2 separate regions of the Homo sapiens genome follow, and region 1 is linked to region 2. Evidence: promoter capture Hi-C in 16 types of primary human blood cells and fetal thymus (Javierre and others, 2016). All regions are on one chromosome and are shown on one strand. Each heading gives the region's core, a stretch centred on a gene start or on the middle of the fragment in contact. The rest is flanking DNA. Distances are from core to core; before and after follow the strand shown.

Region 1 (4,022 bases), core at 618-3,117, 240 kb before region 2:
TGGGAGGCTGAGGTGGGCAGATCACCTGAGGTCAGGAGTTCAAGACCAGCCTGCCCAACATGGCGAAACCCTGTCTCTACTAAAAATACAAAAAATTAGCTGGGCATGGTGGTGGGCACCTGTAATCCCAGCTACTCGGGAGACTGAGGCAGGAGAATTGCTTGAACCCTGGAGGTAGAGGTTGAAGTGAGTTGAGATCACACCACTGTACTCCAGCCTGGGTGACAAGAGCGAAACTCCATCAAAAAGAAAGAAGAAAAGAAAAAGAAAAAAGAAAAAAAGAAGAAGTTAGCATGGTCAGATACACAGCTAGAAATCAGTAAATATTTTCCAGTGACAGAGGAAGGTTTTTGACTCCAGATCCCCAAAACGACCTCACTAGTGGAAACACAGCTGTAAATAACAAGTCTGAGTGAGGTAAGGTCACATCCAGCTTTTGAAAGCTCAGCAATTTGGCGACAGAGAACAGTTCAGACCCTTAGGCATGAGCACAGCCCTTATTTCCCACCCACGGCTCAACTAAACCAGCCTAGCCTGGGCCAGATGCTTTTCAGAGCTTAGAGCTGTGAGATTGGAATGCAAATCAGTGGCCCATTCATCTATCTGTGTCTTAGACCAGCCCTAGAGCTAATCCTGAAAGGATGTGCTGGGAGAGTAATGATGATATCAAAGTGATGTGCAAGAATGAAGACTGAGGTCACAAAATGCATTGCGGCCAGGGAGGGTGCCAAAGATTAGAGCCTCGCACCATGATTTTAGTAGACTGGTTGCATTAATGTTCCCAATTATTCACTCCTCCTCCTGTATCTGTACCTTTGACACGTAACTTTGAAACTCCTTTGATCGAAGAGACAGAGTATATTTCTGTGCCCCTTGATTCTGAGGCTAGCCATGTAACTTTCTTTGGACAATGGGATGTTAGCAGATGTGATGCATGCAGAGGTGTTTTTTGTTTGTTTGTTTTTTGGTTTTTTTTGAGTCAGAGACTTGCTGTGTCACTCAGGCTGGAGTGCTGTGGTGCGATCTCGGTTCACTACAACCTTCGCCTCCTGGGTTCAAGCGGTTCTCCTGCCTCAGCCTCCCCAGTAGCTGGGATTACAGGTGCGTGCCACCATGCCCAGCTAATTTTTGTATTTTTAGTAGGGTTTTGCCATGTTGGCCAGGCTGGTCTCGAACTCCTGACCTCAGGTGATCAGCCCGCCTCAGCCTCCCAAAGTGCAGGGATTACAGGCGTGAGCCACCATGCCCCGCCATGCAGAGGTTTTAAAAAGCACTTACAGGTATACACTTCTGCTCTTCCTCTTCCGCCCTCACCATGAGAACATGCTCAGGCTAGCCTGCCAGAGGATGAAATATATGTGGTGAATATATGAAAAATATATGGAACAGTCAAGTGACCCCAGTAGCAGCCAACGCCATCTGAGATAAGTTGACAGCTAGCCAACCCCGAGACAATAGAGTGATCCTAGTGAAGACCAGAGATATTCCCCGATTTGAGTTCAGTCTAAATTGTTGAGCCACATATTTGTGAGCTAAATACATGCTTATGGTTATAAGCCACTGAATTTTGGTGTAATTTGATATGCAGCAATATTGCAGAAATAGATAACAGTCAAGACTGTGTACATTCTGAGGATGTGCACAGAGATGAAGAATAGGTAAGCAAAAGCAGTGTCAGAGTGTCAGAGTAGTATTCATGGGTTATGCAGGGTAAAGCGTGCTTCCCTAGAGTGAAGCAAATGGTTCTGCCCTCTGCCCACACTCCATCTCCATTGCTATCCTTTCCACCCCTGTTTTTCAATAGTTATCCAGCATACATATTCTATATGTGTTTTCTTAGATTTATACCTAAGTATTTCATTTTTGGAGATAATATAAATGATATCGTTTTAACTTCTATTTGTAATTATTTGTTACTAATGTATAAAAAATAGAATTGATCTCTGTATGTTGGCCTTGTATTCAGTGACCTTGTTAAACTCACTTATTAGTTTCATGTCATTTTGTGGATTCTTTGGGATTTTCTATGTAGATAAACATCATGTTGTCTTCATACAGGGAAAAGTCTCTTCTTTTCTTTCTAACCTGTGTCCTTTTTTTGTGCCTAGTATAGTGGCTAGGACTTCCAGTACTGTCCCTCTTTGTAGACAACATGCCGAATAGTATATAATGATCACATGGCATTTATTCTTGGAATGCAAGACTGGTTCAATACTCAAAATTAATCAGCAAGGCCGGGTGTGGTGGCTGATGCATGTAATCCCAGCACTTTGGGAGGCCGAGGCGGGTGGATCACCTGAGGTCAGGAGTTCAAGACCAGCTTGGCAAATATGATGAAACCCCATCTACAAAAATACAAAAACTAGCCAGGTATGATGGCGGGTGCCTGTAATCTCAGCTACTCAGGAGGCAGAGGCTGGAGAATCGCTTGAACCCAGGGGGCGGAGGTTGCAGTGAGCCAAGATCGCACCATTGCACTCCAGCCTGGGTGACGGAGTGAGACTCTGTCTCAAAAACAAAACAAAACAAACAAAAAATTCAATCAACGGATTCCACTATATTAAAAAAGAATAAAAACCACATGACCACATCAATTGATGGAGAAAAAGCATTTGACAAATTCAACATCAATTTATTAAAAAAAAAAAAAACTCTCGGTAGGCCAGGCACAGTGGCTCACGCCTGTAATCCCAGCAATTTGGGAGGCCGAGGAGGGCGAATCATGAGGTCAGGAATTCGAGACCAGCTTGGCCAACATGGTGAAACCCCGTCTCTACTAAAAATACAAAAATTTAGCCAGGCGTGGTGGCATGTACCTGTAATCCCAGCTACTCGGGAGGCTGGGGCAGGAGAATCGCTTGAACCTGGGAGGTGGAGGTTGCAGTGAACTGTGATCATGCCACTGCACTCCAACCTGGGTGACAGAGTGAAAGTCCATCTCGCAGGGCAGCGGGGGGTGGGGCAAGGGGAAACAAACAAACAAACTCTCAGCAAACTAGGAAGATAAGGGAATTTGCACAATCTGAAAAAGGCATGCACAAACAAACAAGCAAAAACCCTATAGATAACATCATACTTAATGGTGAAAGTCTGAATGCTTAGGTTCACAGCAAAAATTTTAAATATATATATATGATAGAGATGAGGTCTCACTATGTAGCCCAGGCTGGTCTCAAACTCTTGAGGTCAAGCGATCCTCCCACCTCGGCCTCCCAAAGTGCTGGGATCACAGGCATGAGCCACCAAGCCTGGCCTCACAGCAAAATTAAGTGGAAATACAGAGTTCCCAGATGCTCCCTGATCCCACCCCACTCTAACAGCTCCCACCCCACTCTAACAGCTCCCACTATCAGCCTTCCCCACCAGAGTGGTACATTTGTTCCAACTGATGAACCTCCATTGACACATCATTATCACCCAAAGTCCACAGTGTACATTAGAGTTCACCCTTGGTGTACATTGAATGGGTTTGGAAAAATGTATAACAACATGTATCCACCATTGTAGTATCTTACAGCGTAGTTTCACTGCCCTAAAAATCCTCTGTGCTCCATCTATTCATCCCTCCCTCTCTCCTAACCCATAGTTTTCCAGAATGTCATATAGTTGGAATCATATAGTACGTAGCCTTTTCCTTTTTATTTTTTAAGACGAAGTTTCGCTCTTGTTGCCCAGGCTAGAGTGCAATGGTGTGATCTCAGCTCACCGCAACCTCCACCTGCCCGGTGCAAGGGATTCTCCTGCCTCAGCCTCCCGAGTAGTTGAGATTACAGGCATGCGCCACCATGCCCAGCTAATTTTGTATTTTTAGTAGAGACAGGGTTTCTCCATGTTGGTCAGGCTGGTCTCGAGCTCCCGGCCTCAGGTGATTCACTCGCCTCGGCCTCCCAAAGTGCTGGGATTACAGGTGTGAGCCACCGCCCCGGGCCATATGTAGCCTTTTCAGATTGGCTTCTTTCACTTAGTAATATACATTTAAGATTTCTTGTTTTTTGGTGGCTTGATAGTTCCTTTCTCTTTAT
Region 2 (3,897 bases), core at 673-3,172:
AATGACTGAAGAGATTGGCGCAAAATGAGGAAAGGGGCTTCGTTTCTGAGAATACCAGCTCCACTCAACACTGGATACTCTCCTGCCTATGGAAATCCACAGGGGCAGTTGCAGAGAGTGCTGCATGTTTCATAGTGTTGGGATAGGACAATGAAAACTAACATTTACCAGGTGCCTGCCACGGGCTATTCCTGGGCTTGAGGCTCTAAAGATGTCCCTTTGAACAATAACAACAGCCATCTAGGTTAGGTGGTCCTTAGCTATGGCAGAAAAGAGGGGACTGAGGCCCAAGAAGCTAGTAAGTGGTGGATTCCAGTCTTTTCTTCCAATGGATTAGTAGACACCAATGGCCCAGGAAGGGTGTTTCTTGATTTTTGAATACTAACATCATGAATAGCAAATGCTGGCATGGCAATAAGGGCATGCCCTGCATCTGGTCACATTCAAATCATCAGTCCCTTCTCTTTCTGCATAAACACTTGATCTTACAGAATCAGGATATGGAGAGATGCTGGCCAGGGCCACAGATCAGGTGCTTCTGCAGTTTGCAATTTCTTTACTCTCCTCAGGACATATTAACCCTATCATACTATTAACCCTTTTCTGCCTACTGATAGTGATATCTGAAAAGGTTATCAAATCACCTCTCCTCTAGAAATAAATAGGTTGGTATCTCTAAACCTGGCCATCAGTAACACATACACATGAAATTCTGAATGAGCAGTAATTCACTGCTCACATGTCCAAGGGAAAACAGGCTCTTTTCCTGGGACTTGTACAGGAGGCTTGGAGAGAGTCACTTCCCAGGGTCTGGCTGTATTGAGTTTGCAGATTTAGGTTGTAACTCATCCAAACTATCTGGGGAATGCAAGTTAACCTGAGAGGAGAAAGAGAAAGAGGAAAAACACTCATGTTCAAATGGAAATTAAATACGTGTCTGATAGATTACACAAATGTCTTGGACACATCTATGAACAGTGTCTGGCACCAGCTGGCTCTAGCACAGAAGGGTTTGCTGTGTACCTGAGGGAGACTCTGTCATACTTGACCCAAAGAGGCCCGCTTGGTGACCAGGCAGGCATAGTAAGCATGGAGAACAACACTTGTTCTCTTTCTCCCAGACCCAGACAGGAAACAGAAAACTTTCCTCAAGTTTACTACAGGCCTTTTTAGCGGGCCATGTTGCCACTGGCTGGCATTCTCAGAGAAAACACCTCTCCGCTAAAAAGTAAAATCCAGATTCTCCCAGGGTGTCTAAGATCCTAGGAACCGGAGCCCCACCACTGGGTAGAGAACAATCAGAATGAGGCTTTCTTCCCTCACTTCGGGAGGTTGCTGGCTCTGAAGCCCGGCTCCAAAGCCCCTCTTCCAGGCCACTTCCCCGACTGAGCCAGACCTGTTGCTCTTAGGACGCTCTGAGCCAGGCCTAGGGCCCCGCTCCATGTGGCCTGCCTGGACCCTAGAGGGCCGCGCTCTGGAGCTGCCACAGATGCCAGAGGCGCGACTCTTTTTCCTATTCCTAGGAGCGGAAGACAGAAACAGTGGCCTTGGGGACAGAGGGGTGGGAACACCCCACGTCCACTGCAAGAGAACGAAGTGGAAGAAGGGATTTCGGCTTCGGAGCCGGCAGGGGCCTGGGCACTGGAAAGCCCGCGCGGAGTTCTCTCGCCTCTCGCCGCCCAGGTACGCCTCCCCGGACCTTTTGTACGACTTACCGTTGGAAATGGTCACACATTCCTTCTCCCCTTAGAGCGAACACTGTCATAACCACTGAAGCGCGGGCCGAGGAGCGCCACATCGGCCACAGGCTTTGTTGCCCCGCCTTCAAAGCCACTGCGCGTGCGCATTGCTTTGACTTCACGTTCCCAGGGGGCTGTGGGAAGCGGAAATGCTCGGCTGACCCGGAGGGTGGCGCTTCGTTCACACTGGCTGTTGTCATCCGCCCCTGAGGTTTCAGGCTGTCGGCAGTGAAGTAAGCGGGAGGGTGAGGTGGTGATGGTTTTGATCGGGGGAAGGGGGGACGGGAGGAATGACGGGAGTTTACGGGGCCGTGGGGTCATGGGGCCACGGGTGAGCGTCCTTGTGGGGATTGAGTGACACAGGCGGTGGGCGTGAGTGTTGGGGGCGAGGTTCGGGGCCAGCGAGTGACTAATTGATTGAGTCACTCAGCGCTTGTATCCTCACCCGGTGGTAACTGCCAGACACTCTTGCAAATGTTTCACATTAGCAGGAGCCCTGTGAGGTGTTACGATGATTATTTTCATGTTATAGAGAGAAAACGGTACAGTGTGGCTTGGCAACCTGTCCAAAGTCCCGTAGGTAGCAAACCCGAGGAATCCTTTTTCTTTTTCTTTTCCTGTACTTTGTTTATCATGTTTATTGTTTCCAGTGTGTCTCTTCCTCCAGACTAGAAATCTGGAGCTGGGAATTTGAGATTTTGTTCACTGATGGATTTGCAACACGGAGAACCGGCTCATGGAAGGCAATCATTTCTTCAGTGAATAAAAGTGGCACAGCAGCCAGTCAGTTGATTCCAAAGCCCGGACTCAGGAAGGCAGGGTTTCGCTCACTGAGGATAATTGAGCTGTGCATGAATGTTAACTCTTAAAACTAGAATGAGGGGTTGTCCCTCTTCTGTTGGGTAAAAACCTTTGGGTTTCACTCAACTTCACTGCATGGAAGGGAGCATAGGTGTTGCTAATTGAATCTCCTGTGGTCATTGTGTTTCCAGGGTCAGAGTGCAGACCTGAGACCACTGCTCACCGATTTCAGACTCCAGTTTATCTGTGCCTCGGCTTCCCCACTTAGTCGCAGAAGACTTAGGCTGAGGCCCCAGGAAGAGGTGAGTTCCCTGGGTCACAGGCAGAGATCTAGTGCTATAGTGATGGCCCCAACTGGGGTGTGTTTGTCTCTGAATCCCTTGGTCCTGCCGCCTTGGACACAAGAGAGGTACGCTGAGCTGAGGCGAGTTGGAGGAGAAGCCTCAGCAAGAGCCCAGACCCAGATCCTCAGAGCAAAGGAGGCTCACGGGACAGCAGGTCCTAGAAGAGCTGGACCCGTAGTGGCCTTTGTCCCTCACTTCAGCTGAGACAGAGCAAAGCTGGCTCTACTTCCAGGTGCCATGGAGGACCATGTGACAGTGCAGTTTGATTCCTGCTGGAGGAGGGACAGGTGAAAGTCACAGGTGGATGGAGGCATGGATGTCCCCCATGGGGGCAGGTGCCCTGCTGTAGTACCTGCAAAGGCGGGATGAGGCTGGGAAGGATCACAGCCAGCCACAGAGGATTGGCCTCTCCTAGCACACCTATTTGTGCACCCCCATGCTTCCTTCTCTTGCCATTGGCTATTTCTGAATTTGAGTCAGCCCCACACCATCAACCAGGCACCTGCTTCCAGGGGAAATGCTGAGTGTCCGTTCATCCTGACCAAAGTGCAGAAAATATATTTTTAGTTTATAGAATTTCAGAGTAGTCTCTAGGTATGCTGTCATCCAGCTCTGCTGCCTTATTTCAATGCTTAATGAAAGTGGGCCAGGGGACATGACCTGCTAAGCTACACGGAGCTGAACCCTGTTGTCCTGATGGTATCACAGTGATTGCTGCAGTATGAAATGGTTACTCTGCACAGAATCTCCTTGCTGGAACTTTCTTTTGAAAATCTGCCAAAGAAGGAGGAGCATGGCAATCAAAATGCAAATCATGGGAAAGGAGGAAGTGGTGGGGTGGGAGCAGGGTAGGTGGCCAGTTAGAGAGGTGGATGCAGGGAAGCAGGCACAGTGGTTTTCAGCCCCTCACAGAACTGACAGTGCTTGGCTGTTACCCACCCAGCCCCACACCTCTCCTTCCCTGCGGCCCTTTGAGCCCTGGTTGGGCTCCTTCCTCCAAACCACATGAAGAG

The links. Contacts are between HindIII fragments. The CHiCAGO score rates a contact against its expected background, and 5 or more counts as called.
Region 1: a fragment that was not itself captured here is called in contact with the fragment with the promoter of ZNF674 in region 2 in 1 of 17 cell types (M2 macrophages); the score reaches 5.4 in M2 macrophages.

Annotation. Positions count from the first base shown.
Region 1 is chrX:46,785,617-46,789,638 of GRCh38, reverse strand. No RefSeq gene overlaps it. Among named protein-coding and RNA genes, the nearest start is that of SLC9A7, 29 kb to the right of the region's middle. The HindIII fragment of the contact is 5,433 bases long and covers 1-4,022 here.
Region 2 is chrX:46,543,446-46,547,342 of GRCh38, reverse strand. It overlaps ZNF674 (zinc finger protein 674), which reads left to right and starts at 1,922. Exons shown (of 6, transcript NM_001190417.2): 1 at 1,922-1,972; 2 at 2,732-2,842. It overlaps ZNF674-AS1 (ZNF674 antisense RNA 1), which reads right to left and starts at 1,853. Exons shown (of 2, transcript NR_015378.3): 1 at 1,716-1,853; 2 at 1-877. RefSeq lists enhancers at 1,584-1,733, 1,349-2,548. The HindIII fragment of the contact is 22,375 bases long and covers 1-3,897 here.